Linked DNA regions of Homo sapiens: regions 2, 3, 4 and 5 are each linked to region 1. Evidence: promoter capture Hi-C in 16 types of primary human blood cells and fetal thymus (Javierre and others, 2016). All regions are on one chromosome and are shown on one strand. The core of a region is centred on a gene start or on the middle of the fragment in contact, and the rest is flanking DNA. Distances in the headings are between cores, read along the strand shown.

The links. The method cuts DNA at HindIII sites, captures the fragments that hold promoters and counts their contacts. A CHiCAGO score of 5 or more calls a contact.
Region 2: a contact is called between a fragment that was not itself captured here and the fragment with the promoter of HSP90AB1 in region 1, in 1 of 17 cell types (fetal thymus). The highest score is 6.7, in fetal thymus.
Region 3: a contact is called between a fragment that was not itself captured here and the fragment with the promoter of HSP90AB1 in region 1, in 4 of 17 cell types (M0 macrophages, M2 macrophages, M1 macrophages and 1 more). The highest score is 6.4, in M0 macrophages.
Region 4: a contact is called between a fragment that was not itself captured here and the fragment with the promoter of HSP90AB1 in region 1, in 1 of 17 cell types (fetal thymus). The highest score is 5.2, in fetal thymus.
Region 5: a fragment that was not itself captured here is called in contact with the fragment with the promoter of HSP90AB1 in region 1 in 1 of 17 cell types (fetal thymus); the score reaches 5.1 in fetal thymus.

What each region holds. Positions count from the first base shown.
Region 1 is chr6:44,244,928-44,249,395 of GRCh38, forward strand. It overlaps HSP90AB1 (heat shock protein 90 alpha family class B member 1), which reads left to right and starts at 2,174. Exons shown (of 12, transcript NM_007355.4): 1 at 2,174-2,268; 2 at 3,703-3,849; 3 at 4,450-4,468. The coding sequence starts at 3,703. RefSeq lists enhancers at 476-1,230, 1,985-2,739, 3,224-3,273 and a silencer at 1,434-1,673. The HindIII fragment of the contact is 5,727 bases long and covers 1-2,910 here.
Region 2 is chr6:44,129,993-44,134,460 of GRCh38, forward strand. The region is part of intron 1 of TMEM63B (transmembrane protein 63B); the gene reads left to right. Among named protein-coding and RNA genes, the nearest start is that of TMEM63B, 4.7 kb to the left of the region's middle. RefSeq lists a silencer at 1,169-1,328 and enhancers at 3,173-4,138, 3,561-3,730, 4,139-4,468. The HindIII fragment of the contact is 482 bases long and covers 2,362-2,843 here.
Region 3 is chr6:44,336,855-44,341,322 of GRCh38, forward strand. No RefSeq gene overlaps it. Among named protein-coding and RNA genes, the nearest start is that of SPATS1, 3.6 kb to the right of the region's middle. The HindIII fragment of the contact is 1,726 bases long and covers 1,289-3,014 here.
Region 4 is chr6:44,146,952-44,151,419 of GRCh38, forward strand. It overlaps TMEM63B (transmembrane protein 63B), which reads left to right. Exons shown (of 24, transcript NM_018426.3): 12 at 426-549; 13 at 1,301-1,434; 14 at 1,562-1,699; 15 at 1,841-1,994; 16 at 2,908-3,014; 17 at 3,273-3,359; 18 at 3,613-3,678. Among named protein-coding and RNA genes, the nearest start is that of CAPN11, 9.6 kb to the right of the region's middle. RefSeq lists an enhancer at 2,219-2,388. The HindIII fragment of the contact is 2,889 bases long and covers 881-3,769 here.
Region 5 is chr6:44,180,605-44,185,072 of GRCh38, forward strand. CAPN11 (calpain 11) reads left to right here. Exons shown (of 23, transcript NM_007058.4): 16 at 1-58; 17 at 144-201; 18 at 329-393; 19 at 648-716; 20 at 2,337-2,415; 21 at 2,515-2,631; 22 at 3,101-3,159; 23 at 3,302-3,797. The coding sequence ends at 3,328. Among named protein-coding and RNA genes, the nearest start is that of CAPN11, 24 kb to the left of the region's middle. The HindIII fragment of the contact is 4,304 bases long and covers 334-4,468 here.

The DNA.
Region 1 (4,468 bases), core at 924-3,423:
CACCATGTTGGCCAGGCTGGTTGTGAACTACTGACCTCGGGTGATCCACCCACCTCGGCCTTCCAAAGTGCTGGGATTACAGGTATGAGCCACTGTGCCCAGCAGAGAAAGTGGAATTTCTATGCTGGTGTAACATTTGAGATTTTCCCATTTAGAAAGTCTTCAGGAAGCCGTCGAGTCTTGACACAGAAAGGATCCAGCTCAGGGGAAGCCCATCCACAGGAGTGATTCCTGCTTTGGATTTAGGTCCTAGGGGTGAGATCACATCCCTGCTCCATTTCTGGAGCAGAAAGGGAGCTAGTGCAGCAAGGACTCTGAGTAGACGGGCCTTGGGAGTCACTGAAGCCACTTCCCTGTTGACAGAATGTGCACACTGACTTTCATCCGCTCACAGGAGAGTGAGAGTTTGTGAATGCTCTCTGTGAACTGGGGAGCAGATTTTTAATGAGCTCTGCTTAGAAGGAGAGGACACGTTAAGGGATCACGCTCCCACTGGTTTGCGGTTTTGGTCAGGAATAGAGCACCCAACGCCCCTTCTTATAGACTTCTCCCAGCCATAGGCTTTTTGCAGACCATAATGAAAGGGAGAAAGGATATCCAATCGGGATGGTGATGGCAGGCATGGCGAAGTGGACAGGGACAAAGAAGAGGAAAGCAAGGGACACCCTTTGTTCTTTGGTATTCAACACATGAACAAAACTTGTTAACGAATCGTAGACTGGGTAACAACAGGGCTGGTGAGGGAGGACGATGTGGGTGGCTGTGGGGAAACTCTTCCCAAGCATCCCAGGGGTGGGCCAGGAAGGGGAGCAGATGGACATCTACAGGGCACAGAGCAGGGAGTGGCTATTCTCTCCTGGAGGGGTTGTGGGTCCAGCAGGCTTTCGGATGAGGCCTTGGAAAGGCAAGGACAGCTTGCCAACTGGAGGGCAGGCAAAACGGCTGAGCCAGGCCAGACACGGCAGCTCACTGGCCAGGGGCATGGCCTAGGGGCTCTGGTGCCAAGGCTGAAGGGGAACAACTTGGCCAGCCGCTCTGTGGCCGGCATCGTCACGCGGCCTCCAAGAGCTCCGGCTGCCCTGCACTGGTTCCCAGAGACTCCCTCCTTCCCAGGTCCAAATGGCTGCAGGAGCGAAGTGGGCGGAAAAAAAGCGAACCAGCTTGAGAAAGGGCTTGACGTGCCTGCGTAGGGAGGGCGCATGTCCCCGTGCTCCGTGTACGTGGCGGCCGCAGGGGCTAGAGGGGGGTCCCCCCCGCAGGTACTCCACTCTCAGTCTGCAAAAGTGTACGCCCGCAGAGCCGCCCCAGGTGCCTGGGTGTTGTGTGATTGACGCGGGGAAGGAGGGGTCAGCCGATCCCTCCCCAACCCTCCATCCCATCCCTGAGGATTGGGCTGGTACCCGCGTCTCTCGGACAGGTCAGAGCGGGTCGCCGGGTGGGGTCGCTGCAAAAACCCTGCCCCGGCCGCAGCCGGAGAGGCGGAGCCTCGCGGGGAGGGGGCGGGACCGCCGAGACAGGCCTGGAAACTGCTGGAAATGCCGCAGTGCCGCCGCCGCGCCTTCCGCCGCATGTCGGCAAAGAGTCCCCGCCAGCCCCGGCCGGCGCCCTCCCCCTACGCTGAGCTGCCCCTCAGCGCGAACCCTCCGCCCTTCCTCTACTCCTGCGAGAGTCGGGATCTGGGGCTACCCAAGGTTGGGTCCCGAATGCCAGTCCCTCTGTCGGGACGCGAGATGTGTAGGGCAGATGCTAGGAAGAAGATTGGGTCTGGGAGCGGTGGTCCGCGTGGTTAGCTGCCTCCGCTCTTTTTCGGTGTCCCCCCCAGTCCCGCCCTTGGGTGTGGGGACGCCTGCCCCACAAGTGTTTAGGGAGGTCAGTGGGTTCCTCGCCCGTAGAGACACCGTTTATGCCAAATGAGCACTCCTCATCCCCGCTCTTGATGGAGTCATGTCCTAGACGTGAAACTATGGGGCTGTGATCACAAGCAAATGTGTGGGCGGATCCGTTGCTTGGGTTCTTCCCCGCCCCCTCTTTTTTTCGGACCATGACGTCAAGGTGGGCTGGTGGCGGCAGGTGCGGGGTTGACAATCATACTCCTTTAAGGCGGAGGGATCTACAGGAGGGCGGCTGTACTGTGCTTCGCCTTATATAGGGCGACTTGGGGCACGCAGTAGCTCTCTCGAGTCACTCCGGCGCAGTGTTGGGACTGTCTGGGTATCGGAAAGCAAGCCTACGTTGCTCACTATTACGTATAATCCTTTTCTTTTCAAGGTAAGGCTGAGATCTCCGCTAGGCTTCTTTCCCTTTAGTGCTGTATTCGTGTTGTTTTTGTTTTTTTCTGTCCTTTAGGGAGCCTTAGTCTAGATGTCGGGGTGGCTTGTGGATAACGCTCTGGATTTTTATAGGGTGAGGGTAGTGGTGGGTGAGGTTTTTTGAGTCCTCCTCGGTTTTCTCTAGTGTGTTTGGGGGGTGGGGCTTTCTCTCGGCGCCTGCTGGCCGTAGCGAGGTGGGCTGTGGGGTTGGGGCAGTGGGCGGCTGGCAGCTGCACGTGGTGGCCGCGCGGCCCGGGACGCTGCCATTTTTGCCCCTCCACTTCCGGACGCGGCTACGGGGCGTCGGAGGGGGACCGCAGGGTGGCGGGGGTGCCCGCTCGGGTGACTCAGCACGGCCTTGTGGGACTGGCTTTGTCACCTCTCTTATCGGACGCGTTGTTAAAGCCTTCTTGGGTGCTTTGTTTCTGTGAGGGAGGGTTGACGGTGTGGGAAGAGAGCTTTCGGTCTCCAGCACCCGATACTCCCTCCTTCCAGATCTTTCTTGCAGTCCCGGTGGAGGAGGGGCGGGGAGGGGAGCAGGTTCTGGAAGATTCATGGGCTCCTTCCTCCGCCCTTCCTCGAGAGCTGAGATTGTTCTGGAAGCTTCTGGATTCTGGCGCCCCGCCCCAGTGCCCGGATGCTGGGGCGAGGGAGGGTGCACTGCGGCGCCCCCTCCTCGCGTGGTCCTGGCCGACGCATGTCCGGCAGTGACGAGTGTCGGCCTGGTGGCTACGGCCACCATCTTTCTTGGGTTTGGTCCTGTTCTGTAATTTTGTGCTGTGAAAGGGTCGTGGTGGAGCTTTTGGCTTAAGAATTCTTTGTCCGGATTTAATTGCTCCTCCGGTGGGTATCGTATGGATCCCAGGTTATTCCTCCCTGCCCTATGGGGCAGGAGTGTCCCGCCCTTGGACTGGTCTTAGGAACTGACACCTCAGGGGGAGCAGTTTAAAGTTAGTGCCATTTTTATCTTAAACTAGTCACTTTGATCTCCCCCAAATAAAGAACTGTAGGTAGTGATTTTCACATTTAAATTTGTGTAAGGATTACTTGGGATCTCTAGATACCTGGGTTGGACCAACATTATGATTTTTCTGCCATACTACCAGATGATGCTGAGGCTGCTGGTCACCATTCTTTAAGTAGGTGGGTTCTGTGACATTTGGTTGAAGAATATTTAGCTTATTTTCTTTTTCCTTCTGAATTTTCAGGCCTCCCACTTAGTGTGTAGTCTGAGATCTTTAAGAGAATGCATTTTTAGTCTTGGGAAGGGATAGTACTCCGGTTAAACCAGTCTGAACTCACTGTCTAAGGTCCTAACAAATGATATGACCTTTAGGATTTTTAAACATGGGGCCTTAGTGTTCTTTTGTAATTAATGAGATTTTTATTTTAGATGCCTGAGGAAGTGCACCATGGAGAGGAGGAGGTGGAGACTTTTGCCTTTCAGGCAGAAATTGCCCAACTCATGTCCCTCATCATCAATACCTTCTATTCCAACAAGGAGATTTTCCTTCGGGAGTTGATCTCTAATGCTTCTGATGTAGGTGCTCTGGTTTCCACATTTGGCATGGTTTTTTTTTTTGATACTCTAGAAGGAGGGGAAAGGAGTGGTTTGGCCTTTGTTGGGGACTACTATTGAAGGGGGTAAACTTGCAGCTATTCCAAAAAGATGGGTTTTACTCTGGCCATCTTGAACTTGGAAGGGACTATGTCCAGAATAAGTGGGCTCATGGAACTAACTGGTTCTAAAGCCTCAAGATAGGGGGCAATCAGATTTGAGGCTGAGAGAGGTAAACCAAGATTTTCTTTGAAGATACGGGCTTTAAGAAAGCAAAAGTGGCTGAGCGTGTTGGCTCACACCTGTAATGCCAAGGCAGGAGGATCACTTGAGCCTAGGATTTCGAGGGCAGCCTGGGCAACCGCGAGACCTTGTCTCTGCAAAAAATTAAATATTAGTTGGGCACGGTGGCATGTGCCTGTAGTCCCAGCTACTTGGGAAGCTGGGGTTGGGAGGATGGCTCGAACCTGGGAGGTCAAGGCTGCAGTGAGCTGTCATCCTTGCCACTGCACTGTAGCTTGGGCAACAGAGCAAGAGTCTGTCTTGGAAAGAGCAAAAGTAAGTTGCTGTTTGTATTTCCAGGCCTTGGACAAGATTCGCT
Region 2 (4,468 bases), core at 1,353-3,852, 110 kb before region 1:
CCAGACTATGGTGCCTGTCCCCTATGCCTGCCTCAGAACCTGAAATCACAAACCCAAGGCCTGAGTGGAGGGAAGCTACAAGCAAGAGGAAAGGCAAGCAGGTAGAAATAGGGTATGGCATTTCTCCAGTGTGGTAACTGACTGCCTCCGGCTCCCTGGTGGAAGTGGCTCTTGTTTGCAGATAACTCTGCAAAGTGCAGTGGTTAAGAGCATACACTCGAGCCAGGCAGCCTGGGTCCTTATCTGGGTCTACCACAGACTGGCTGTGTGACCTTGAGCAGCTCATATACTCTCTCTGTATCTCAGTGTCCTCCTGGGGTTGTGATGGGGAGCAAATGAGTTACATTTGTAAAGTGCTTAGAACAGTGCTTGGCACAAAAGAAGAGTTAAATAAACATTTAATACTATTATTTTACTACTTTTTTTTCTTTTTCTGTTTTTCTTTTTTCTTTCCTTTTTTTTTTTAGACACGGTCTCTGTCTGTCGCCCAGGATGGAGTGCAGTGGCATGATCTTGGTTCACTGCAGCCTGGAACTCCCTGGGCTCAGGTGATCTTCGCACCTCAGCTTCCGGAGTAGCTGGGACTACAGACATGCACCAGCATGCCCAGCTAAATTTTGGTGGTGGGGGGTATCTTTTGTAGAGACGGGGTTTTGCTATGTTGCCCAAGCTGGTCTCGAACTCCTGGGCTGACGTGATTCTCCCACCACAGCCTCCCAAAGTGCTGGGATTACAGGTGTGAGCCACCATGCCTGGCTTTTTTTTTTTTTTCCCCTCGAGACAAGGTTTTGCTCTCTTGCCCAGGCTGGAGTGCAGTGGCATGATCATGGCTGACTGCAGCCTCCAACTCCTAGGCTCAAGGTATCTTCCCCACTTGGCCTTCAAAAGTGCTGAGATTACAGGGGTGAGCCACCCCACCCTGCCTACTACTACTTTTTTTTTTGAGATGGAGTCTCACTCTGTCGCCCAGGCTGGAGTGCAGTGGCATGATCTAAGGTCACTGCAACCTCTGCCTCCTGGGTTCAAGTGATTCTCCTGCCTCAGCCTCCCGAGTAGCTGGGACTACAGACGCATGCCACCACACCCAGCTAATTTTTGTATTTTTTTAGTAGAGACGGGGTTTCACTGTGTTGGCCAGGCTGGTCTCGAACTCCTGACCCTGTGATCTGCCCAGCTCGGCCTCCCAAAATGCTGGGATTACAGGTGTGAGCCACCGTGCCTGGCACCTACTACTACTTTTATGCTCACTTGTGGATATATTCTTGCCTTTCTCTCTGAAGTGGGTAGGGGTAGAGTAAGGATATTTGTATCTCTTTGTTACAGATTGGAAGACTGAGACTCAGGTTTCGTAGTAACAGAGCTCGCTTCCATCTTCCCCTCCTCCCCTCAGACCACATGGCCTTGCTTTGATCCAAAGCCCTAACTTAAATCTTGCCCAGTAACTCCACTGAAAAAGCTTATATCACTCCTGTAATCCCAGCACTTTGGGAGGCCGAGGTGGGCAGATCATGAGGTCAAGAGATCGAGACCATCCTGGCCAACATGGTGAAACCCTGTCTCTACTGAAAATACAAAAATTAGCTGGGCGTGGTGGCATGTGTCTGTAGTCCCAGCTACTCAGGAGGCTGAGGCAGGAGAATCCCTTGAACCCAGGAGGCAGAGGTTGCAGTGAGCCAAGATCGCGCCACTGCACTCCACTCTGGTGACAGAGCGAGACTCCGTCTCAAAAAAATACACAACAACCCCCCCAAAAAAAAGCTTATAAGTTATAGCTCTCCAACCCCCACCATGCACACACTCCTTAATGGTAAAATTAAAAAGTTAGCTAGAAGTAAAATGCTCCATCACTCTCTGGACACACCTCAACCAAAACCTCAATATCAGACTAGAGAAACTGGGATATAGCTGGTGCAGGCACCTCGTGGAGTGGAAGAACTGCCACCTCCCATCCCCAAGGTATTCTGCCTCAATGTCTTCCCTCTTCTCAGTTGCTCAGCCCAGTGCTGGCTTTGAGAGCAGCTGCCCTTGATGAAACTCAACCCAGCAACCCCACCCCCACAATTAAAAGCTTGGAGCAGCCCTGTCAACTGGCAGAGCTGCCAGCCCAGGCTCCACCCCTTACCTGTCCTGTCACTGTGCAAGTTGCTTCCCCTACTGGGTTCCTGCTTCCTCCCTGTAAAATGGGGATAGTGATCTGAGTGTGCCCTGCCTTCCTCCCATGCAGGTGGGAAGATTAATGCTGTTGTGGAGGGGAGAGTACTTTGTGACCCCAAGGAGGCGGACAGCAGAGGAGCATGGTGATTTCAGTTACTAACCATCTAGCTAGATCCTGTCCACCCTGCTGGGGCCACTTCATGTAGAAGCTTCCAAAATGCTCTACCTTTCTTTGGTGTGGAGAAGACAGGAGTTGATAGGAATGGTACTCTGGGGCTTGTTCTCATTTCATTCTGATCTGATGGAGCCTTGGAATTCAGAGAGAGAAACAGGCAAGGGGTGGGAATAGAGTGTTGAGATTGCTGGAGTACATTGGAGTTGAGAATTGAGAAAGGGGGACTAGTTAGAGTCCCCCCAACCCAAGATACCTATACCTACCTTTAACCTCCCATAGTGCCCCAGGGTTCTGTGCATCTTATGTTTACATACCCGGGCTCCCAGACACACCCATGTTCACACCCCCACTTCGAAGCCAACAACTCCCTTCATTTCCGTGGACTGCCATGCAGTCACCTAGCTCCTCCTGGACACAGGTCCACACATCAACACACATTTACATACCTGGACACACACATTTCCACAGCACCCACAGGTTCTCTGGCCTGAGAACATTTAATGAGCATTTATAAAGCTTCCATGGTCTGCCGAGTCCTGTTCTAGGAACATCAGAAAAGCACCGTGGTGCCCTGAAAATCATTCTAGCTTTAGAAAGAAGGTGAGCTAGGTTTGAGTCCTAGGTCCCTCATTTTATTAGCAGTGTGACCTTGGGAAAGTTACTTAACCTCTGAGGCCCTGTGCCCCCACCCTAAAATGTCAGTGACACTCAATTCAGGATCGTCGAGGATTAAATGAAATCATGTAATATATTATTCTTGAAACTGAGGGCACTGGACAAATGGTACCCAATACAATTACTAAATTAGTGTGTTTTTAAAGGCAGCTTGGACTGGAAAAGGAAGAGGCATAACACACCAGCACACACTCCTTTAGTCTTCCTAATCCAGGCTTTGCAGAGACTCCCTGGGACCAAGTGAAACACATAAACAACTCCATCCTCCCCTCCATCTGAGGGCTTCTGCCTCTTGCCCTGTGGTTGAAGTGTTAGGAAGAGGCAGGAGAAACCCTCTGAGTCCCCCTGGGGGCTAAGGGATGCTGCTCCCGAAGTTGCAGTCACTGTTTCTAGTTTTGTTGTTCTCTTTGGTTTTCCTTTTTCTTCCCTGAGGACCTCCTCCCCTGCTCCACAGCCCGCCCCCGAGGCAGAGCTTCAGTGTTGTCAGCAGAAGGGTCCCCCAGGGACCCCCCAGTAAAATGGGTGGGGCAGTGCTGCATCTGTTGAGGCCACACTTCTCCGCTATCCTGGGATCCTCCCCAGGGCCCCACTCTGCTCTGTCCCCAAGCACTTTGAGAACCCAGGCACTCAGGCTGGCTGTCCCTTTTCTCCTCCTGCCCACCCCATCCACTCTGAGCATCAATGCAGCCGGCCAGTTGCAGGCAACCAGGCAGCACCCTGGCTGCCCAGGCAGGCTAAGAGGCCCCCACCCACTCCCCCCTCCTTTGCCAGTGGAAAAGCTTGCCGTAGGGCATAGCTTTCCCAGCCTTCCCTGCTTCAGAGGCAGGAGCATGGCACTCTGGGAGTTGTAGTGCTCATAACACTCAGGCGATCCCTGTGCAAATAACTGGAGAGAGGACTATGGTATGGGGAAGAGAAATGAGAATAAGCAGGAGTGGCTGGGGCCAGGCAGGTAACTCAAACCCAGAAGTCCTACTATTTACTTGACTTCCTACTCTGACCCATCGTCGAACCTAAGCCAGTTATATTGAGTTCAAAACTCTAACCAAATGAAATCATGCCATTTTTTCTAATAGGCATAGAAAGAAAAGATCAGGATGAGGCAGCTGGCTCCTGACCCATTCTCCCCTGACGTGGAGACCCCTCATCTTACCCTTGAGTCCTCAGGCCTAAGACCCCTCCCTGTCTTCCCAGGCTCAGCTCCGCCCCCTGCCCTAAGACAGAGAGAATGAGAGTGTGGGGGTGGCGGCGGCAGGGGGGATTTAGATAGATGTTAGAAAATCACAGATACCTTCCAGCTTAATGAAACCAGCCTCCCCAGTCCAGGCCTGGCATCTAGACTGAGTTCCCCAGACCCAGGGTGGGGTCATAGCCAGAGAGCCAGTGAAGGTAAATCCATGTGACTCAACTCTCCCCTCCCTAGGCCCTTATCTCCAGAGGCCAGAGCTTCCATCCACCCAGGCA
Region 3 (4,468 bases), core at 902-3,401, 92 kb after region 1:
CCAGTAATAGTCTGGCCTTCTGTGGATGAATGTTCGTTCTCTTTAGAATATGGATTATTTAATGCCTCTTCGTCTCCAACTTGGAGCCCCAGGTACCAATTTCAGGCACCAGAAAAAGTTCATTCAACTTCCTGTTGGTAGGCCAACATCTCCCACTCTCAGCCTAGCTGAAACCAGCTTAACCATTTCTTTTGCTAACCCTCTTTCCTCTCCAGTTCACACAGAGACCCATGTAAAATTAGATCTATTTTTCCAAGACTTGGTGTCCTCAGGCCGTAAGTCTTGGGGTTGTCTTTGCCTCCTCTGTTTGGTTGGCTTCTCATATCCATTAAGTGCCTTCTGCCTGGCCCTCTTCCTCAGACAGCAGCCTTCCCACCTCATCAGACTAATCTCCCTAGAGCTCTAGGGTTCTACTAAGAAAGAAATGGCACCCTCCAGCTGAGTAACTGCAGGGTATAATAAAGGCACTATTTACAGAGGTGAAGGTGGGGTTTAGGAAAAGCAGCAGGGAATGGGGCAATGCCTCAGGGCTGTAACAGCTGGGAGTCACTTCTATTCCTAGGCCTGCAAGGTCCAGGGAAGGAAGCAGTCAGTAGTCCCCAAAGAGAGCTGTGTGGAGCCCACCCCTGACAGGGGCCGTGGCCCTAAGGGGAGGGGCATAGACAACTGAGGCCAACAGGACAGGAGCTAGGGGTTGAGGGGTAAATACCCTGACTTCACTTCCCTCCCTGCCTTCCTCTATGGGATTTGGGGGTGCCTCTATGGGATTTGGGGGGTGCAGTCCACATAGGCCAACCTCCCAGGCAGGCACAAAACAAGGTGGAGACAGTGGGAGTGGACCTGGGAGGGATACAAGGATGGGCAGCATATGCCATTTTTGCCTCATCATTCCTCTGATGAGAGATCTGCAGTGACTTCCTAGTCCATATTGGGTTAAACCTCATATTGAAGGAATTCCACTTCAACCTCACGTAATTCAGCCTTTTCCTTTCCTGTTCTGTAGAGTATAGGCATTCCACTCACAGAAGCTGCTGTCCTTACTCTGCATGTCTGTTTTATATATTACATAGGTTACACACATTTTAAAATCTTAGTCATTGATTTATGTTACTCAGAAATCCAAGTCCAAAGGGACTTTTGTGTTTCTGGGACAAGCGTCCTCCCAGGCCTCTCCCAGGCGGTCTGGCAGCCTAGGATGTAGCCCTGACAGCCTGGCCAGTACTGAGATGACAAACGGACCTGCTCATTGCTGAGGGCACATATAAGAAGGCTCTGGCACAGTGGTGAAAGCTTAGGCTCTGAATCTAAAGAGACTGGATTTAAACTCCAGCTTTGCCAGTTACGGTGGTGGGATGAGTTACTTCTGCCTTCTGAGTCTGTCTTTCCTCATTTGTAAACAGAGGATGATTCTACTAGCACTTCACTGTGGTTGGGATTAAATGAGATAAACAAATGTAAAGAGATGGGCAAAGCTATCAGGGGAACTCAGTCAGGGAAAGGACTGTGTTTTACTCACCTTTAAATTCTTGTACCTAGCACAGTGCCTGGAACATAGCAGGTGTCTGGTCATTGTTTCCTGGCCTGAACTGATGGGGAGGCCCTCTGGCTATTTGGGAGCTGGCCATGTTAGTCAGTTCTGAGGTAGCAAATGCTCTCTCTCCCCTATCTTTGCCAGGCTTCTTCTGCCTACCATTGAAGGGTTCTGACGGTGGCCGTGTGTCAGTAATCCACTCAACACCTATTTCCCTAGCGCTGTCTTTATACAAGGCTCTGTGATGCCCCTTACTTGAAGTCAACTGTAGACAATCTATGAGCGCATCCCGTTTTCCATACCTGGGTTTATACTGCCCTCTGGTGCACACTTATGGGACACGCGCGTTAAATGAGGGCTTCTGCTGGGTGACCTTTCCTTGACATTGGGGAAGAGAGGCTCCCCTATAGGGACAGCCTGCAGTGCTCTTTCGAGGAGAAGTGGTGTTTAAGACGCCCTCCTCACCCAGTTTAGCTTGTAGCTCTTGAGGCTTACCAAACTCGAGGCTTTTTTTTTTTTTTTACCAATGTCTCTGACCCTAGGCAATTAAATAATACCATCCTTCTAGGCTCAAGTTTCTTTCTCCAGCAGGCACTTTTTGTCCTGCCAAGACTCAAGAGGAATGGGGTAGAGTTTATTTGAGTTTATCTTTCTCCCTCTGCTGTCTGGTTTCCTCTAATCTCTGGGCTCTTGATTCTTATGGCTGCCCCAGCTGCTCTCAAGGGTCTGGGGTTGGGGGAGCCAGGGGAGAACCAGAACCAACGGTTCCTATCCAGTGCCTGGCCCCCTGCTTCCACCCCCGCCTCACTGTCTATCATTCCTTCCCAGAGACAAGCTCCCAGCTACTGAAAGCGAAGTGGGGTCCTTCAGGGAGAAGGAGCAAAGGGGAAGGGAGGGGGTTAAAGTTCAGCCCACCCTCCTCTGGCCTCACCATGAAACCTGCTAGAAGTATTTGTCCTTCATGATTAAGTTGAATAACATAAATTTGCTGATATGCAACTATGTTTCACCTACATAACCAGAAATTTTATATAGTTCAGTGGAAAACTTCACACGTAAACCCTGTGCGTGTTTGTGTTGGCCTGGAGCCCCAGGTTTCCTGAGCTCATTCAGACCCAGGAGAGCCAGGCTTGTGGAACATCAGGATCCCGGACTGTAAAGCTGAAAGGAGGGCCCTAAAGCTGGAGAAACAGTTGAGTTGACCTTAAGGACCTGGGACCACCGCCCCTCCCTGCATCAGGCCTCCATGTTCCTGCACAGGTGCTGCAGTAACCTCCAGGCTGGGCTTGGTTTGGGGTGCTCAGACAGGGGACGGCAAGGGAACACTGAGGAAGGCCTTCTTCTTGCCCAACTGTGCTCACCCTCCCGGCTATACAGGCAAGATTTTCTGGGACCTTCAGGAACCTCAGTCTTCTGGGGACATCTAGCATCCTCCCCTCGCCTCTGCTGCTGAACTCTGGTTGTGGGGCTGCTGTGCACAGGAAGCTTCAGGTGCCAATCCTGGGAAAACACTGGCTGTGCGTTGGGGCCAAGCTGATCAGAGGCAGCTCCACGGCCTTGAGAACACTTTAGCTGGCTCCAGTGCCTCGCCAAACCTTGGGCACAGCTGCCAGGGCAGGCCTGGTGCGACAGGCATCTAAAACTTGCCCAAGGAGTGAGGGCAAGGTGGCCTGGGAGGTTTTAAGCTGCAGAGTAAGGGAAGGCTTGTGAGTCACAGTTCACAGGACTCACTAAGGATGAGAAAGTTTCCCTTCTGTGATTCACTCGCCTGCCTTGCAAAATCACCTGACCAACAGATAGATCTTGATGTCTTGGAACCTGGTGGTTCAGGTTAGAAACCTGGACTCTTTCCTCCTAGGAGGATGCAAGCAAGAGAGGGAGGGGCTCAGCTCAGACCATTGTAATCATCCATCCACCCACCCACCCACTCACTCATTTATTCATTCATTAAATAAATGGTTATTGAGCATTTATATGTGCCAGGCACTGTGCTAGTTGCTTGGCATACAGCAGTGGACAAAATAGACAAAAATCTCTGCCTTCCTGGTGAGGCAGCCTCTTGAGTCAAGCCATTAATAACTAACTATGCTGTTGCCCAGCTAACATTTCTATTAAATAACTGTTACCTCTCCTACCGTGGGATAAAGAGATAACATGTTTTTTTAACTTCAATAAGGGGAAATGCTCAGGATATGCAGCCATCCTTCTGTATCCCTGGGGGATTTGTTCTAGGACTCCCCTCCCACACCAAAATCTTGAGCATATCAAGGATGTTCAAGTCCCTTTTACAAAATGGCATAGTATTTGCATATAACTTATGCAAATCCTCCTGTACGGTACTTCAAATCATCCCTAGATTATTTATAATACCTAAAGCAATGTAAATGCTATGTAAATTGTTGCTATACTTTGCTGTTTTTATCTGTATTATTTTAAATTTTTATATATTTTTTGAATATTTTTAATCTGTAGTTGGTCATATCTGTGGATCCAAAACCCTCAGATATGGAGGGCCAACTTTTTTTTTTTTTTTTTGAGATGGAGTCTCACTCTCTTGTCCAGGATGGAGTGCAGTGGCATGATCTCAGTTCACTGCAACCTCTGCCCCCCGGGTTCAAGCAGTTCTCCTTCAGCACCCCAAATAACTGGGATTACAGGTGCCTGCCACCACGCCTGGCTAATTTTTTTTTTTTTGTATTTTTAGTAGAGACGGGTTTCATCATGACGGCCAGGCTGGTCTTGAACTCCTGATCTCAAGTGATCCACCCACCTCGGCCTCCCAAAGTGCTGGGATTATGGGATTATGGGCGTGAGCCACAGCCCCAGCCATCAACTATAATCTTAAATTTTAAAAGCCCAATACAAGAGATATCTATATCTATATCTATCTATCTATCTATCTATCTATCTATCTATCTATCTATCTATAATATGTTA
Region 4 (4,468 bases), core at 1,075-3,574, 98 kb before region 1:
GTGACACCAAGGGCCCCCTGCCATTGTGGAGGACATCTTGGCTACCACACAGGCTCCCCTTCTAGATTTTTTCCTAGGGCATTTGATTTTAATTCAACTCGTTGGTGTGCCTGTTAATTCAGCTCTGGAAAGAGCAAGGCCTGGAGGTTAGAGTTTGTTGTGAGGGGAAGGGGGGCCCATGGTCCCCACTGCATCTGAGGACATGCCCTTCTTTGGCTACAGTATGAGAAATTTAGGTCAGCCTGCAGGAAGAACTTCTGGCCCTCTAGGGATGGGTGGGGAGACCTTGGGATGTGGCCACATCTGAAACATGTATCCTAAACAAGAACAAGACAGCTCCTGTCCTTGGGGAGTGAGCTAGATGACCCCCAAGCTGAGCCAGCCCCAGCCCCAGATGTAGGTGACCAGGCATCTGGGTCCCACAGGAAGAAGGCCGAGCGGGGAAAGCTGTACTTCACAAACCTCCAGAGCAAGGAGAACGTGCCTACCATGATCAACCCCAAGCCCTGTGGCCACCTCTGCTGCTGTGTGGTGCGAGGCTGTGAGCAGGTATGACGCGGGCTGGCTGTTGAGTCGGGAGAAGTTGGACAGGTCCTGGGCAGGCAAGGCTGGGGCCCTGCCCTCAGTGAGTCCCCACCTGTCCCTGGAATCCTTGAAGCCTCAGTTCCCACTGTTGGGTTTGTCTAATGTCCCTACAGTGACCAGGTTTTCAAACCTCAAATTAGAAAATGTCAGCCAAAAGGACAATGTTGTGCTGTACCCACTGACTCTGGGGACTTGAGCAAGTTGCTTACTGCTCAGTGCCTCAGTTTCCTCATGGGGTTAACGTACCCACCTTATGAGAGTGTTGTGAGGGTAAAGTGAGTAATACATATAAAGAAGCTTAGAGGTGCTGGGTGCGGTGGCATATGCCTGTAATCCCAGCACTTTGTGAGGCTGAAGCAGGTGGATCACTTGAGCCAGGAGTTTGAGACCAGCCTGGGAAACATGGCAAAACCTGATCTCTACAAAAAATACAAAAATTAGCCAGGCATGGTACTGCACACATGTATTCCCAGCCACTTGGGAGGCTGAGGTGGGAGGGTCACTTTAGCCTGGGAGCTTGAGGCTCCAGTGAGCTGAGATTCCACCACTACACTCCAGCCTGGGCATCAGAGCGAGACGCTGTTTCCAAAAAAAAAAAAATGCTTAGAGGAGCAGTGCCTGGCTTGTAGGAAGCCCCAAGTCAGCGTGGGCTGGATGCTGCAGGCCCCAGCCTGGCTTTCCAACTAGAGGCCCTGTCCCTAACCCTCCCACAAAGGTGGAGGCCATTGAGTACTACACAAAGCTGGAGCAGAAGCTGAAGGAAGACTACAAGCGGGAGAAGGAGAAGGTGAATGAGAAGCCTCTTGGCATGGCCTTTGTCACCTTCCACAATGAGACTATCACCGCCATGTGAGTCCCCAACTCGGCCCTCGGCCCTGAGCAGCCCTCCAGGGCTCCCTGACCCCTGTGCTCATGGCCTTCTGCCAGCAGTGTGGCCTCCAGGTGGGCCTGTGGTAACCAGTGCCCATCTTTCTAGCATCCTGAAGGACTTCAACGTGTGTAAATGCCAGGGCTGCACCTGCCGTGGGGAGCCACGCCCCTCATCCTGCAGCGAGTCCCTGCACATCTCCAACTGGACCGTGTCCTATGCCCCTGACCCTCAGAACATCTACTGGTGAGCAAACAGGTGTCAGGGCAGGCTTTCCAGGGCCTGGGATGGGCTCAGTAGGTAGGCGGAGGAGAGGGAGTGTCTTGGTGTCACTGGGGGCCAATCCTGCCCTTGGTTCCTGGACTGACCGGTTCCCCACCTTGCCAGGGAGCACCTCTCCATCCGAGGCTTCATCTGGTGGCTGCGCTGCCTGGTCATCAATGTCGTCCTCTTCATCCTCCTCTTCTTCCTCACCACTCCAGCCATCATCATCACCACCATGGACAAGTTCAACGTCACCAAGCCTGTGGAGTACCTCAACGTGAGGCCTCATGCCCCTGTCACTTTCCACGCTGGGTCACAACACACAGATACCAGGCCCTGATCCCTCTTCCACTTGCCCAGCCCAGCCCGTTCTGCTTGTTCCAACCCCGTGCCACCAACCAGCTCCCAAAAACCCCTGTGTGCACTTCCCTTGGGCTCCCTGCCACCTTCCCCCTGAGAGAGGCCACCCTCAGGTGTGCAACACCTGGAGAAACACCCAGGGAAGAGAGAGAGCCTGCATTTAGTCCTGATCTCAGAGAAGTCCCCTTCCCTCACCCCTCAGTCTAACTGAAAAAATGGAAAGGTTCAACTAGATCAGTGGCTTTGGACTTGGATTCTGATCTCTTTATCGGTGTGAAACCCAGTGTGGAAAAGCAGGGCTGCTCCGATGACAGTAGGGTGGCATGCATGTCTGCCTGGCCTCCCCTCACCTCTCCTCCCACGCATAGAGCATACCTCTTTAGAACCTCAGAGTTTGAAGAAGGACAGTTTGCAAATCACTTGGAGTGATAATACCATAATAGATAAGACCCAGACTGCATGGATTCAAATCCCTACCTCATGGCTTGCTAGCTAGGGAAGCTATTGAATCTTTTTTTTGCCTCAGTTTACTCATCTGTCAAATGGGGTAACAGCATTATTGTGAGGATTAAGACATGGCAAGTACATCAGCACTGCTTAGAACATAGTAGATGTTCAGCAAATGCTGACTATCAGTATTATCCACCCTGGGGTTATACATATGGCCCTGGCCCCCACCCTCACCCCAGCCCTCCGGATGTTCTGGGCTTCCAACATGGGAGCCCTGAGAGTTGTGAGGCCAAGGGCCCAGCTGGGGAGGAGGCACATAAGCAAAGCCACCTGGGCCCCCTAGACTGCCCTGCCTGACGCCCCCCTGTGCCCTGCTGCAGAACCCCATCATCACCCAGTTCTTCCCCACCCTGCTGCTGTGGTGCTTCTCGGCCCTCCTTCCCACCATCGTCTACTACTCAGCCTTCTTTGAAGCCCACTGGACACGGTAAGGTGCCTCCACTCACACCACACCTCGCTGTGGCCTGCCCTCAATGACCCATCCTCTCTGGGCAGCACTTTGCCCTTCAGGCTCCTGGCCCTGGGCAGTCCCACAGCTGGTAGGGAAGGGGTAGTGCCCAGCACCCTCACCTTGGGAGGCCCACCCTTCCCAGGGGACACTCCTTGGACATTGTCCTTGTTGGGGGAGCAAGTCTGGGGCCTGGGCTCACTTGACCTGTACCGTTCCCTGCTCCCCTCCCTCCAGCTCTGGGGAGAACAGGACAACCATGCACAAGTGCTACACTTTCCTCATCTTCATGGTGCTGCTCCTACCCTCGCTGGGACTGAGCAGGTGAGTTGAGAAGGATGGGGCAGGAGCCAGGGTAGGGGGACAGCAGGATAGGGAGAGGAGAGCAGTTCAGCCTCCCTACCTCCCCTACAAAGCAAGGGGCCCAAGATGGGAAGCCTGGCCACCCCCAGGCCTCCTGAGCTACCCACCCCATGTCTGGGAGTCTCCCCAGTGGCTCACAGAGGAGGGACTTCCCCTCCCCTGGTGTTCTGTACCACTCCAGCTCCCACCCCATCTCTCCTCTGCTTCCCTCCAGCCTGGACCTCTTCTTCCGCTGGCTCTTTGATAAGAAATTCTTGGCTGAGGCAGCTATTCGGTTTGAGTGAGTGACTGGGGCCCCTAGGGAAAGAGACCAGACAGCAGGGGTGGGTATGCTTGAGAGACATTGCCAGCCCCATGGGAGGGTGCAACAAAGCTTCCAACTCCTGGAGGGGGCAGAAGAGAGAGGATCTGGCGGGGTTACCCCAAAGGCACCCACAAGGTGTCTTGGGTGTGTATACATGGTAGAAGTCCCTGGGGTCTGTGTTGGTGTTCACTCTCTGGTAACCTGTTTGGATGCTAAGATCATCCTCAAGGTATATTTGGGGCTTGGGGCTCCACATTCTGGTAGTTTCTATGGGGGTGTCTTGTGCCCATATTCTGGGACTAACTGTGGGCGTCTCTGGAGTTCCACTTGGGAGGTTTGGGGAACCATCTCTAGGGAGGTCTTGGTGATACTTAGGGAGTGTCTTGGAGGCTACTAGGGGTATCCCTGAAGGTCTCTAGAGCCCATATTTTTGGGTATGTGTAGGAGGCTCTTGACCTTATAACTCTGGGGGTGTCTGTGGGCGGGGAGGCTAAAGGACTCACACTTTGGGATGTTTAGCAGTACAAGTTCTGGGAACATCTCTAAAATTTCAGGCTTTTATTCAGAGATGTAACTGTGGAGTTCTGTATGGGCATCTTCTCTGGGAATCATGTGAGGATATATTGAAGGTCATGCACCATGGCTGTGGGCACAAACTCTAGGGGTTTTGCTGTAGGCCATCTGTGGTGATCTTTGAGTCACACTTGGGGCATCTCAGGCACTGATAAAGGTTCCTGGGCTCCCCCAGAGATGTTGCGGGAAGGGT
Region 5 (4,468 bases), core at 1,236-3,735, 64 kb before region 1:
CTCTGAGGATGACATGGACCAGGACTTCCTACATTTGTTTAAGATAGTGGCAGGAGAGGTGAGCAGGCCACGAGCGGAGGGCTGACAGGAGGGGGATGAGGGGCTGGAGGGGCCCGAGTGGGGTTCACAGTTCCCCTTCCTAGGGCAAGGAGATAGGGGTGTATGAGCTCCAGAGGCTGCTCAACAGGATGGCCATCAAATGTGAGTCTTCCACTCCTGCTGCACACGACCCCTCCCCCATATTTTGTGCCCCTCTTGATCACTCCCAGTGCCCCCACGATACCTCATTTACCCTGTCTCTCCTTTCTACCCCTTCCCTTCCTCACAGTCAAAAGCTTCAAGACCAAGGGCTTTGGCCTGGATGCTTGCCGCTGCATGATCAACCTCATGGATGTATCCTCCTGTCCAGTGCTCTCTTGGCCCTGTCCCCTGCCCACAAGCCTGGCCCAGAGATGGCCACCCTGGGCCAGCCACGTCCTCCTCCCTGATGGGGATTAGGCTCTGGGGTAGCAGAAGATGCCAGTTCTTCTGGCTGCTACAGTACCGGAACCCCAGGGCTTGTGTGTCCCCTCAGGAACCCCCGCTGCTTCCCTATCCCCTGGGATGCCTTCTTCACTCCTTCTCTGCTGTCCTTGACCACCTTCCAGAAAGATGGCTCTGGCAAGCTGGGGCTTCTAGAGTTCAAGATCCTGTGGAAAAAACTCAAGAAATGGATGGTAAAGGGCACTAAAGGGGCAGCCTCCAGGGGTGAGGAAAAGAGGGTCTTAGGAGAGATGGAACTAATGAGGGGAAGCTAGAACCCAAGCCCTAACCACACACACACACACACCCAACCACACCACACTCACACACACACACACACACTCACATACAGACACAACCACACCACACACACACACACACACTCACATACAGACACAACCACACCACACTCACACACACACACACTCACATACAGACACAACCACACCACACATACACACTCACATACAGACACAACCACACCACACTCACACACACACATACACACTCACATACAGACACAACCACACCACACTCACACACACATACTCACATACAGACACAACCACACCACACTCACACACACACACACTCACAGACACAACCACACCACACTCACACACACACATACACACTCACATACAGACACAACCACACCACACACACACATACACACTCACATACAGACACAACCACACCACACACACACACACTCACATACAGACACAACCACACCACACACACACATACACACTCACATACAGACACAACCACACCACACTCACACACACATACACACTCACATACAGACACAACCACACCACACTCACACACACACATACACACTCACATACAGACACAACCACACCACACTCACACACACACATACACACTCACATACAGACACAACCACACCACACACACACATACAGACACAACCACACCACACACACACACACATACACACTCACATACAGACACAACCACACCACACACACACACACATACACACTCACATACAGACACAACCACACCACACTCACACACACATACACACTCACATACAGACACAACCACACCACACTCACACACACACATACACACTCACATACAGACACAACCACACCACACACACACACACATACAGACACAACCACACCACACACACACACACACACACACACACTCACATACAGACACAACCACACCACACACACACATGAAAAGGGTCTGTTGGAGTGTGGCATATTACCCAGTCAAAATATTTTATAACAAGTATAGCTCAGGTATCATCTAGTCATGAAGGATGCACACAAAGAGCGCTGGGCAGGGCACCAGTGCCCCCGACAACCCATGCTTGGAATTAACCCTTAGGTCACCAGATGATAGGAATATCAGGAGTGGGCCAGGGTTGGAGGGGGGCATGGGGTCTTAGGCCACTGCTGTGAGCCAACTGTCCTAAAGTATTTCTTTTTCTTTTTTTTGAGACGGAATCTCACTCTGTTGCCCAGGCTGGAGTGCAGTGGTGCGATCTCTGCTTACTGTAACCTCCGCCTCCTGCCTCAGCCTCCTGACTAGCTGGGATTACAGGCATGCACCACCACACCCAGCTAATTTTTGTAGTTTTATTAGAGACGGGGTTTCGTCATGTTGGCCAGGCTGGTCTCAAACTCCTGACCTCAGATGATCCGCCTGCCTCGGCCTTTCAAAGTGCTGGGATTACAGGCATGAGCCACCGCGCCCGGCCTCAGTATTTCATTATTTCAACCACCATGCCATGCATGTGGCCCTACCATATCTGTCTGTCTCTTCAGGACATCTTCAGAGAGTGTGACCAGGACCATTCAGGCACCTTGAACTCCTATGAGATGCGCCTGGTTATTGAGAAAGCAGGTGGCCAAGGGTCAGGAGTGGGCCTTGGGGCAGGGAAGAGGATGGCAGTGTCCAGAGGCCCAGACTTTTCCCCTCCCCACTTCTCTCTCCCTCTCTCAGGCATCAAGCTGAACAACAAGGTAATGCAGGTCCTGGTGGCCAGGTATGCAGATGATGACCTGATCATAGACTTTGACAGCTTCATCAGCTGTTTCCTGAGGCTAAAGACCATGTTCAGTGAGTTAGGCATCTACCCACTCCCCAGCCTAGGCCAGGGGCCGCGGGCCCTTTCCCAAACACCCACCCTGATGGGTGCTGCTCCAGATCCCCTCCCCCTTACAAGGCACACATGAAATGGATTCAAAGCCCAGCTCCGCCACTTGCTGGCAGAGGTGACTTGAGCAAGTCACTTAATCTTTCTGTGCCTCCATTCCCTCCTCTTTAGAATGTGGATAATAATAGTACTGCCCTCAAAGGACTGAGGTGCAGGTTAAACCAGTTAGTCTATGGAAGGCAATCAGAACTGGGCCTGGCTCCTGGTGAGGCTATGTGAGTTGCTATCATTAATTCCCCACTTGGCTAGGGGATTTATGTGGGGAACAGCCAGGAACACCTGGTGTCGCCCCTTCCTACCTAGTTGGGAGTGGTTCTTTCGGAACACTGACTTAGCATTCAGCCCCTCTCCCCCGCTTCCTCTGTAACGCAGCATTCTTTCTAACCATGGACCCCAAGAATACTGGCCATATTTGCTTGAGCCTGGAACAGGTACTTGGAGAAGGGTGGGAAGGAATCTGCAGGATTGCACCTGCCTGCCCCTCAACCCCACCCCCACCCAGCTCTGATGTCCCCGGGCCAGCATCCTGCCCCCGTCTCTTCCCACCCTGGGATCTGCTTCCTGTCTCCACAGTGGCTGCAGATGACCATGTGGGGATAGAGGCGCTGTAGGAGCCTGGTCATCTCTACCAGCAGCAGCAGCAGCGAGGTTCTAGCCCAGGAGGGTGGGGTGCTTCTTGTAGCCCTCAGCTCTCCGGTCTCTGCTGATGAAATGGGCTCCAGGTGGCAGTGCCCGGGTCCCAGGTGCCGTGTTTACTGCAGCAGTGGGACCTCCGTGCCCACTCCCCCAGCTCAGAGGCTTTCTCTTTTTTCCCCAACCCGGCTTCTGATGGCTGGCTTTCCCCCACCATCGCTCTCTCAGAGTATATTTTACTAAAGAGTAGTTGATGCTTCCCCAGGGTCCCCCTGGCTGGGGAGGCCAAGAATAGGGAAGGGACTTGTAGCCCGTTTCTTACCCTCCATGCTTGCTGTCCTGCTCACACCTACCTGCTGACCACCCATCCTGGCACAGCCTCTGTTTTCCTCCCCATCTGTGGATACTATTCTAATAAATAGCACATGCCATTGGCTTCCATGTCTCTGTGTTTTTATGCCAAGAAAAGACTGGCAAGGGTGGAAGTCACTTACCCAGGACCAAAGGATTGGGTAGCTCTCAGCCAAGGGTGATAGGGAGCATATAGAAATGTGCAGTTGTCACAATAACTAGAGGCCATAGTTGGCGTTTATGGGCAGTGCCAGATGCTAAGCACACAAGTCCCTCCCTGTGAAGAACTGTGTGGTGTGCCCTATGGTGGAGCGCTTCTACGGGGGCTGAGCCAGGGCTCCAGGACTCTCATCTGCTGCTTCAAACTGGGGTCCCCAAAGGTGGCACTGCAGGAGCCTCGAAGGTTAAAAATCTGACACCTGCAGCCAGCAGGTCACATAAATGAACGAACTGCCGGGCGCGGTGGCTCACGCCTGTAATCCCAGCACTCTGGGAGGCCAACGCAGGTGGATCACCTGAGGTCAGGAGTTTGAGACCACCCTGGCCAACATGGCAAAACTCCGTCTCTGCTAAAAATACAAAACTTAGCTGGCCGTAGTGGCACGCGCCTATAATCCCAGCTACTTGGGAGGCTGAGGCAGGAGAACTGCTTGAACCTGGGGGGTGGAGGTTGCAGTGAGACAAGATCATACCACTTCACTCCAGCCTGGGTGACAGAGCAAGACTCTGTCTCAAAAACAATTTAAATAAATAAAT